Linked DNA regions of Homo sapiens: regions 1 and 3 are each linked to region 2. The links are contacts of gene promoters, found by promoter capture Hi-C in blood cells and fetal thymus (Javierre and others, 2016). All regions are on one chromosome and are shown on one strand. The core of a region is centred on a gene start or on the middle of the fragment in contact, and the rest is flanking DNA. Distances in the headings are between cores, read along the strand shown. Region 1 overlaps VEPH1 (ventricular zone expressed PH domain containing 1). Region 2 holds the start of CCNL1 (cyclin L1). Region 3 overlaps TIPARP (TCDD inducible poly(ADP-ribose) polymerase).

Region 1 (3,149 bases), core at 101-2,600, 280 kb after region 2:
TATTCTGGAACCATTCTGGGAGTTTGCTTTTCAAAGCTGTCTTATGGCATATCTTCTTTAGGTTGTTATACCTGCCCTAATTTAGGTGTTTTTAAAAAAATACCTACATACACATACACACATATATATACACACACATTTATATACATATATGTATGTATACATACATACATATCCATATGTATATATGTGTGTATATATACGTATACATACATATATATATATTTATGTATATAGATGCAGAGCTCACCTGTTCTTTCCCAGGGACACGTAAAAGGTTTTCGTTTCAGCATCTCCAGCTTCCCAAATGGCTAAGTCGCCTTGAGATGGACAATGGTGGAAACTTACTGAGCTTTCCACCTCAAATTTGAAAGTCCCCCTCCCAAGTGCTCTTTAGCAGAAACATGTTCTCCAACCAGGCCCCTTGAAAGAATGTACTTCTCTTAAAGATTTTCAATTACTGCTTAAATAGTAATTATAAGCATGTGGACAAGGTAGAATTTTTAAACACATTTTTGGTCTATTCAGCTCTTAAGTGCTACATACTTGCTGCTTACAGACTTGCAGAATATTAGGAGCAGAATGGAAGGGCCTTTTTTAGATAACGCTAAAGCCTAGAGGAAATTATGGTGCTCATCCAAAGTTGCATGGCTCATTAGTAGTAACACCATCTGGATTCTAGCCCTCCTAGAGAAATCTAGGGGTTCTATTAATAAGAGGCACTGTAGTGTGCTGATTAAGGGCGTGGCCTCTGTGACCAGACTGCAAAAATTCAAACTCTAGTTTTACTGCTTATCAGCTATGTAAACATAGATAAGTTACTTTTACCTAAGTTTTCTCATCTGTAAAATAGGAATGTAAAAGACTATCTCTTATGGTTGGCATAAGGATTAAAATGACAAACAAAATGATTAGAACAGTATCTGATACATAGTGAATGCCCAATAAGCTTAGTCATCATTATTATACATTGTTGCCTTTCAAAGGTAGTTTTCTAAAAACTCTGCAAAGTTTACAAATATCTGAGAACATTTGGTGTATTAAAATGTATTCTGCAGGCCAGGTGTGGTGGCTCATGCCTGTAATCCCAGCATTTTGGGAGGCTGAGGCAGGCGGATCTTGAGGTCAGGAGTTCAAGACCAACCTGGCCAACATGGTGAAACCCCGTGTCTAAAAAAAAAATACAATAGTTAGCTGGGCGCAGTGGTGTGCACCTGTAGTCCCAGCTACTCCGGAAGCTGAGGCAGGAGAATCGCTTGAACCTGGGAAGCGAAGGTTGCCGTGAGTCGAGATCGCACTACTGCAATCCAGCCTGGGTGACAGAGTGAGACTCTGTCTCAAAAAAAAAAAAAAATGTATTCTGCAATAACATCACTATCCTAGAATTTTGCTGAAAAATGCATGTTGGTAAAGGCTAAATGGAGCGAACTAGGTCTACTGAATTTCACAGGTTTATTATTTTAGGAACTTGGTGGTGGCAAAAAGAGAGAACCAGGTTGGGTTCTGAATTCTTGGAAATTATAGAATTATTGTCTGAAGTTAACTGATAGTGATTCAACTTTTTTAAAAAAAAGCAGTAACAAAGAAAATATGCAAATTGGAAGGGGAGGTAGTTATGGCTTTTATTATTTTGTGGGTTTGGACTAGTTGGCTCTTCTATTTGCGTGCTTTCTCTTCATTTAGATGCTTCATTGGATAAGACAATTGGCTTTCCTTTTTCTCATTTTCTTTGCTCTGCAGAGATTACAGTGGAAGCTTCTTAAGTCGTAATGTAGGGTTTCACATAGCTTTCAATTGTAATAATTAAAATTCTTATGTTAAATAACTAATGCCAGAATAATTCTGAATTAATTTATATTTTCTTTAATATTCTTCTTATTTTCTTGCTACTCTAGGTTGTGAAACAGCTATTTTATTCCCAATGCGTTCCAAGAAGATTTTTGGAAGCGTGCATCCAGTGAGACCAATGAGGCTTGAGTCTTTTAGTGCCTGCATTTGGGTCAAAGCCACAGATGTATTAAACAAAACCATCCTGTTTTCCTATGGCACAAAGAGGAATCCATATGAAATCCAGCTGTATCTCAGCTACCAATCCATAGTGTTTGTGGTGGGTGGAGAGGAGAACAAACTGGTTGCTGAAGCCATGGTTTCCCTGGGAAGGTGGACCCACCTGTGCGGCACCTGGAATTCAGAGGAAGGGCTCACATCCTTGTGGGTAAATGGTGAACTGGCGGCTACCACTGTTGAGATGGCCACAGGTCACATTGTTCCTGAGGGAGGAATCCTGCAGATTGGCCAAGAAAAGAATGGCTGCTGTGTGGGTGGTGGCTTTGATGAAACATTAGCCTTCTCTGGGAGACTCACAGGCTTCAATATCTGGGATAGTGTTCTTAGCAATGAAGAGATAAGAGAGACCGGAGGAGCAGAGTCTTGTCACATCCGGGGGAATATTGTTGGGTGGGGAGTCACAGAGATCCAGCCACATGGAGGAGCTCAGTATGTTTCATAAATGTTGTGAAACTCCACTTGAAGCCAAAGAAAGAAACTCACACTTAAAACACATGCCAGTTGGGAAGGTCTGAAAACTCAGTGCATAATAGGAACACTTGAGACTAATGAAAGAGAGAGTTGAGACCAATCTTTATTTGTACTGGCCAAATACTGAATAAACAGTTGAAGGAAAGACATTGGAAAAAGCTTTTGAGGATAATGTTACTAGACTTTATGCCATGGTGCTTTCAGTTTAATGCTGTGTCTCTGTCAGATAAACTCTCAAATAATTAAAAAGGACTGTATTGTTGAACAGAGGGACAATTGTTTTACTTTTCTTTGGTTAATTTTGTTTTGGCCAGAGATGAATTTTACATTGGAAGAATAACAAAATAAGATTTGTTGTCCATTGTTCATTGTTATTGGTATGTACCTTATTACAAAAAAAAGATGAAAACATATTTATACTACAAGGTGACTTAACAACTATAAATGTAGTTTATGTGTTATAATCGAATGTCACGTTTTTGAGAAGATAGTCATATAAGTTATATTGCAAAAGGGATTTGTATTAATTTAAGACTATTTTTGTAAAGCTCTACTGTAAATAAAATATTTTATAAAACTAGCTCACGTCATTTAATTATAAATTTAAGAGA
Region 2 (3,222 bases), core at 153-2,652:
AAATTAAAGTCCGTTTTCTTTTGCATCCGTATTCACTTGAAAGGAAAGATGTTTTGATTTGATGACTGGTGCACGGTACAGCAGTAGCAAGAGATACTATGTTCAATAATGCCAATCTTACCTTTTTCCTCTTAACTGGCGGAGGTGGTGGAATACATTAATCACATCTCTTATTCTTCTAGGTGCTTCTTCGATTTTTGATGCAAGATTAATACAAGCCATAGCAACAATCTGAAAGAACCCATGAGCCACAAAAGCCATTGTTAGATTAAACTCACTTTGAAGAATAAAATTTAGAACACAATTGGGACAACCTTTAGTAAAATTAGAGAAGACATCTCTATGCCGTAAGTCTACCAGCTATGCTAGTACTATACTTTTTGTTGTTTAACTCATCTTAATTTTGGTTCCAGAGTCAAACTCAATCTTACAGGAGTTCTGCATTTGGTTGAAAACTGTACTTTTCGTTAAGAGGGCACTTAGGCTCGTGATCGATTTTGAACCACATTCTAAAGGTTTCCACTTCCTGGCGAGTGAGAAGTAGGTACAAAGGCCTAAACTAAACCACTCCCTTTCTGGAAAAGCTGGCTGCTGACACTACCCCTACTCTGCCCATTTCCGGATGAAGAAATCCCTTTTACCCGCCTCCGCTGTGCTTACCTCGAAACTGTGTTTGACGAAAGATTTGGAGTAGAAAAAACGATGAAACAACACCTGCCCCGTTGCCATCGCCACCTGCAGACAAGAGAGGAGAACGGAAGCGCAGGGGTCAGGCGGGCCCGCTCCAGGCGCCGCCGCCATTTTGTGCCGCCGATCGCTTCCCTTTCCCCTCCCGCCGCCGCCGCCGCTGCGAACAGCCCGCTGCCAAGTCCTCCCTCCGCCTCCGCAGCCCCCCGCCCCGGCACGCCCCGGCCGCGGCTGGGCCCCGAACGGGAAAGCCTGAAGGAACCGTCCCCACCCTCCCGGGGCACGGTGATACTGAGATGCGGCGTAGGGGACGGAGGAGAGGAGAGGAGCGCCCGGCCGGCCCGGGGCCGGAGCACTGACCTGCGGCAGCCGGAGGAGAATGCCGGCGGCCTGGATGAGCTCGCAGCCCAGGATGCGTAAGTCCGTCTCACTGGGCAGGTCGAGCCCATCCTGCATGGATGGGGTGGGCGAGAGCCTCTCCTCCGGAATCAGAGAGTGGTCGATGGTAAGTGAAACTTCCGAGTACAGGCGATCGCCGATCAGGATCCCTCCCGTCGTGGTCGTCGTCGTGGTCGTCGTCCCGGAGCTGGAGCCGCCCGCGCTTGGGGCGGCCGATGAGGCGGCTGCGGCAGCAGTAGCTGTCGAATGAGGCCCGGACGCCATAGTCTTAGCGAGCCGCACGCAAGCCCAACGCAGCCGGAACCCGAAACAAGACTAACCAGCGTTCTCGGCGCGACGGATATTCCCGTGACCGCCGGGTTCTGGGCCGCTTCACGCCGCGTGCGCTTCCGCCCTGACGTCACCACGCCGGGCAGCCGCGCGCCAACTAGTCCCTCCAGGCCGCGCCTCCGCCCTCGGCATCTGGGCCTGCGAGGGGAGTGTTGGGTGCTGCGACAGACCTTGGGATCCTCAGAGGCTGAGGAGGCCTTCTCTAGCCAAGGCCGGTCGAAACCACCTTGTTTGTGATAGCCACACGAATAACGGAGCTTTACAAGATCCCTTATACCCAAAATAGAGGTGGCAGCATTGGCTAGCATCTCTGCGCCCCTTCGCCCTGCATTCCGGCCTCTTCCTTTAGCCTCGGCGCGGCTTGCGTTCCGCGTGTACCAAGGGAAGTGGCGGCCGACCTGAGCGCGCTTTGGCGGGTGGAAGTGGTGACTTTGTTGTCCTGTGTGGACGAATGTGTAATATAAAGTGACCCTCAAGGAATCTGGAGAGGGCTGCTTTACAGTATTTGAAGAACACAGGGCTGTGGACCCTATCGGTTCCCAAATGAAAGCTCCCCGGGGAGCGTGTTTTTGCCAGTATGGGGAAGTAGGGCGGAGGCATAGGAATGACCGCGAGAGTGGCTGCTTTCATAGCTCCGCTTGCGAAACTCCTGCCCGGCCTTTGACACCGCCACGGCTTTCAGTAATCTGGAAAATCCCTAGTTTCCAAAAATAGTCTTAGGGCGAGGACTTGACAGAGGTAATTTGATTATGCCTGGGAGTCTCTATTCATACATGGTTACCTACCGCGGGTAGGGTGAGGTCAACCTCGTGTTTTTTGTTTTTTTTCCTGTGATATTAGCTAGCAATTTCCAGCGTTTCCTGAACCTTGAAGTAAAAACAATGATACTGATCTAAACTACTAGAATCTAGGTTGGAAGGAAAGGAATGCATCACGTTTTACTCTTGACGCTCAGAAAGCGATACCCCAAAGACAGAGGCTTTAGAAGCTGCCTCATAATGCAGGTCCCCCAACCTTGACTTGTTGCTCCCACTTTTCCCAAGTGCAGGGAGGTACTCTCTGAAATTTCCTTTCCTGACTAGAGAAGCCTCTTTGTAGAAGAATCAATCGCATTCCTCCCCTCGCTGAAATCTCGTATCCTATTTCAAAAAGACTCAGAAATGCAGCCATTCCTGGAGGGACTTTTTCACAAGATTACTCAAAAGAAAATTATTTACTAATTTCTGTCCATTCATTGTTCCTAATAATCATTTGCTGCTCCTCAAAATAAATGTCTACATTTCTCATCTACCCTTTCCCCTATGAAAAAAAGATATAAAATCTTCTGTACTCCATTAAGCTACTGGGTAATCATCCTCCTGCTTTTACCCCGGTGTTATGTATCCCTTTTCTCCTGTTAATCGCCTGTTATCAGTTGATTTTTTTTTTCTTTTTTTTTAGATAGAGTCTCACTCTGTCGCCCAAGCTGAAGTGCAGTGGCGCGATCTCGGCTCACTGCAGCCTCCGCCTCCGGGGTTCAAGCGATTCTCCCACCTCAGCCTCCCCAGTAGCTGGGATTACAGGCACACACCACCACGTCCAGCTAATTTTTGTATTTTTGTAGAGACGGGGTTTTGCCATGTTGGCTAGGCTGGTCTTGAACTCCTGACCTCAGGTGATCCGCCCGCCTCGGCCTCCCAAAATGCTGGGATTACAGGCATCCAAAGCGCTGGAATTACAGGCATGAGCCACCGCACCCGGCCTTATCAGTTGATTAAGTGAACCTTCAGTGGGCAAAGTTGTTTTAAAATGTACTGATACTTGAGC
Region 3 (3,357 bases), core at 858-3,357, 460 kb before region 2:
TAGGGTTTCTTAAAAAATTAGAACTAGTAAAAATGCCATTTCTGTGATTTTACTAGCACAGCTGGAGATAGTGTCAGTGTCCAGTAGTTAGGAATATATTGTCCTCCTGGTGAGATAGTAGAACCCATTAGTGAGACCAGCAGCTTGGCATGCTGAGCCAATCAAGCAAGATAGAACTTCTGTGTGAGGGTAAGAATGCAAGTTCTGCATTGTTGGAAAGTTTCGGTGAATGGTGAAAATGCGTCTGTTTTTATCTCATGATAAGTAATTATGGAATATGCCCTCTTTTTTTTTTTTTTTTGAAGCTTAGGCTTGTTTTGTAAAAGTATGAACTATAAAGATAATATAAGCAGCAATACAATTAATGCCACAAATATGCCTTCATTATACAGGCATATCTTGTTTTATGGTGCTTTGCTTTATTGTACTTCACAGATAATTGTGTTTTTTACAAATTGAAGGTCTGTGGCAGCACTAGGTCAAGCCAAATCTATTAGTGCTGTATTTTCAACAGCATGCGCTCATTTTGTGTCTCTGAATCATATTTCGGGTATTCTTCGGATATTTCAGGTGTTTCATTATTATTGTATCTGTTATGGTGATCTGACCGGTGATCTTTATGTTACATTTGTTTTGGGGTGCCAAGAACAGCACCCACATAAGACGGCAGAGTGTTCAAGTGAAAGGAAGAGTTACACATCTCTAAGTCAAAAGCCAGAAATGATTAAGCTTAGTGGGGAAGGCATGTTGAAAGCTGAGATAAGCCAAAAGCTAGGCCTCTTGTGCCTTAACATTAGCCAAGTTGTGAATACAAAGGAAAAGTTCTTGAAGGAAATTAAAAGTGCTACTCTGGTAAGCACACGAATTATAAGAAAGTAAAACAGCCTTCTTGCTAATATAGAGAAAGTTTTAGTGATCTGGATAAAAGATCAAACCAGCTACAACATTCCCTTAAGCCAAAGCCTAATCCGGAGCAAGGCCCTAACTTTTTTCAGTTCTTTCAAGGCCGAGAGAGGTGAGGAAGCTGCAGAAGAAAGTTTAAACCTAACAGAGGTTGGTTCATGAGGTTTAAGAGCCCATCTCTCTTATAGAAGTGCAAGGTGAAGCAGGGAGTGTTGATGTAGAAGCTGTAGCAAGTTATCCAGAAATCTAGCTGAGATCATTGATGACAGTGGCTAAACTAAACAAGAGATTTTCAGTGTAGACAAAACAAACTTATATTAGAAGAAGATGCCATCTAGGACTTCATAGGTAGAGAGAAGTTGATGCTTGGCTTTAAAGGACAGGGCTATCTTGTCAAGGGCTAATGCAACTGGTGACTTTAAGTTGAAGCCTAGGGCCCTTGAAAATTGTGCTAAATCTACTCTGCCTGTGCTCTATAAATGGAAAAAGTGTGGATGACAGCACATCTGTTTATAGCATGGTTTACTGAATATTTTAAGCCCACTATTGAGACCTGCTCAAGAAAAAAAGACTTATTTCAAACTATTACTGCTCATTGACAATGCACCTGGTTACCCAAGAGCTCTAATGGAGATGTACAGATTAGTGTTTTCATGCCTGCTATACAACATCCATTCTGCAGCCCACTTATCAAGTAGTCATTCTGACTTTCAAGACCTCCTATTTTAACAGTATATTTTGTAAGGCTATAGCTGCCATACATAGTGGTTCCTTTAATGGATCTGGGCAAAGTAAATTGGAAAACTTTTGGGAAGGATTTACCATTTTAGATGCCATTAAGAACATCGTGATTCATGGGAGGGGGTTAACATACCAACATTAACAGAAATTTGGAAGAAGTTTATTTCAGCCCACATGGATGATTTTGAAGGGTTAAAGACTTCAGTGGAGGAAGTCACTGCAGATGTGGTGGCAATAGCAAGAGAGGTAGAAGTAGAAGTGTAGCCTGAAGATGTGACTGAATTGCTACTATCTCATGATAAAACTTGGATGCATGAGGAGTTGCTTCTTTTGGATGAGTAGAGAAAGTGGTTTCTTGAGATGGAATCTACTGGTGAAGATGCTGTAAAGATTTTTGAAATAATAAAGGGTTTGGAATATTACATCAACTTAGTTGATAAAGCAACAGCAAGGTTTGGGAGGATTGACTGCAACTTTGAAAGAAGTTCTGCGGGTAAAATGCTTTCAGATGGTACTGCATGCAACAGAAATCTTTCATGAAAGGAAGGGTCAATTAATGTGGCAAATTTCATTGTCTTATTTTAATAAATTGCCACTGCCACCTCAACCTTCAGCAATCACCACCCTGATCAGTCAGGCCATCATCAAGGCAAAACCCTCCCACCAGTAAAATTACTATGACTCACCAAAGGCTCAGATGATTGTTAGTGTTTTTTAGCAATGAAGTATTTTTAAATTAAGGTATAAATATTGTTTTTTTAAAGAATGAATGCTATTATGTACTGAATAGACTATGGTATAGTATAAACATAACTTTTATATGCACTGGGATACTAAAAAATTGTATTACTCACTTTATTGTGATATTTGCTTTATTGCAGTGGTCTGGAATAGAATGCTCAATATCTACTAGGTAGTCATATATTGATAATATGGGCTTACAAGAGAACAAAAATAGTTACTCTTTATTTTCCTTTTTCTTTTAAAAATTTTCTATTTTAATCTTTCTGTCTAAAACTGATAATCAGGTATAAAGTAAGAGATCAGCAAATCAAAGAAATATTAAACTTCAGTGAGAAAAGAGCAGAGAAATAGCCAGTCCACCAGGGTGGGATGGGTAAATGCAGTGATCCTATCTACCCTAGAGTGTGGGGCTGAAGGACCTAGTAGGGAGAAAGATGAGGGGAATTGGTTCCAAAAAGCATATTTTAGAAGTAGATTCCAGAGGCTATGATCTTAGCCAGGGAAAATGTTTCTTTTTAAGTGGTTTTTGTTTTGTTAAATTTTTAAAACTTTTTTATTTTTTTATTTTTTATTTTTTATATTTTTTAAAACTTTTTTAGAGACAGAATTTCCTCTGTCGCCCAGGGTGGAGTGCAGTGGTATGATCATCATAGCTCACTGTAACCTCGCACTCCTGGGTTCAAGTGATCCTCCTGCTTTAGCCTCCCAAGTAGCTGGGACTTACAGGTGGATGCTGCCATCCCCAGCTAATGTTTTCTTTTTTTTTCTTTGGTGTAGAGACAAGGTCTCACTATGTTGCTGGGGCTGGTCTTGAACTCCTGTCCTCAAGCAGTCCTCCTGCCTCAGCCTCCCAAGTAGCTGGGATTACAGGCATGATGTTTTGTTTTTAAGTGTTATTAAATGCAAAGGATAAAAAAAAAATAGGTGTTAAAGAGGCCACAATTCTCAGGGAATCAGATGCCTAAGAGT

The links. The method cuts DNA at HindIII sites, captures the fragments that hold promoters and counts their contacts. A CHiCAGO score of 5 or more calls a contact.
Region 1: a fragment that was not itself captured here is called in contact with the fragment with the promoter of CCNL1 in region 2 in 4 of 17 cell types (M0 macrophages, M2 macrophages, monocytes and 1 more); the score reaches 7.1 in M0 macrophages.
Region 3: a fragment that was not itself captured here is called in contact with the fragment with the promoter of CCNL1 in region 2 in 7 of 17 cell types (naive CD8 T cells, M2 macrophages, total CD8 T cells and 4 more); the score reaches 8.8 in naive CD8 T cells.

The regions. Positions count from the first base shown.
Region 1 is chr3:157,440,471-157,443,619 of GRCh38, forward strand. All of the region lies in intron 4 of VEPH1 (ventricular zone expressed PH domain containing 1), which reads right to left. It overlaps PTX3 (pentraxin 3), which reads left to right. Exons shown (of 3, transcript NM_002852.4): 3 at 1,896-3,149. The coding sequence ends at 2,509. Among named protein-coding and RNA genes, the nearest start is that of PTX3, 5.2 kb to the left of the region's middle. The HindIII fragment of the contact is 806 bases long and covers 948-1,753 here.
Region 2 is chr3:157,158,745-157,161,966 of GRCh38, forward strand. CCNL1 (cyclin L1) reads right to left here and starts at 1,403. Exons shown (of 11, transcript NM_020307.4): 1 at 1,048-1,403; 2 at 661-735; 3 at 122-231. The coding sequence starts at 1,350. RefSeq lists enhancers at 615-684, 1,318-2,047, 2,135-2,184, 2,205-2,264 and a silencer at 825-1,034. The HindIII fragment of the contact is 11,903 bases long and covers 1-3,222 here.
Region 3 is chr3:156,697,138-156,700,494 of GRCh38, forward strand. All of the region lies in intron 4 of TIPARP (TCDD inducible poly(ADP-ribose) polymerase), which reads left to right. Among named protein-coding and RNA genes, the nearest start is that of TIPARP-AS1, 23 kb to the left of the region's middle. The HindIII fragment of the contact is 2,761 bases long and covers 728-3,357 here.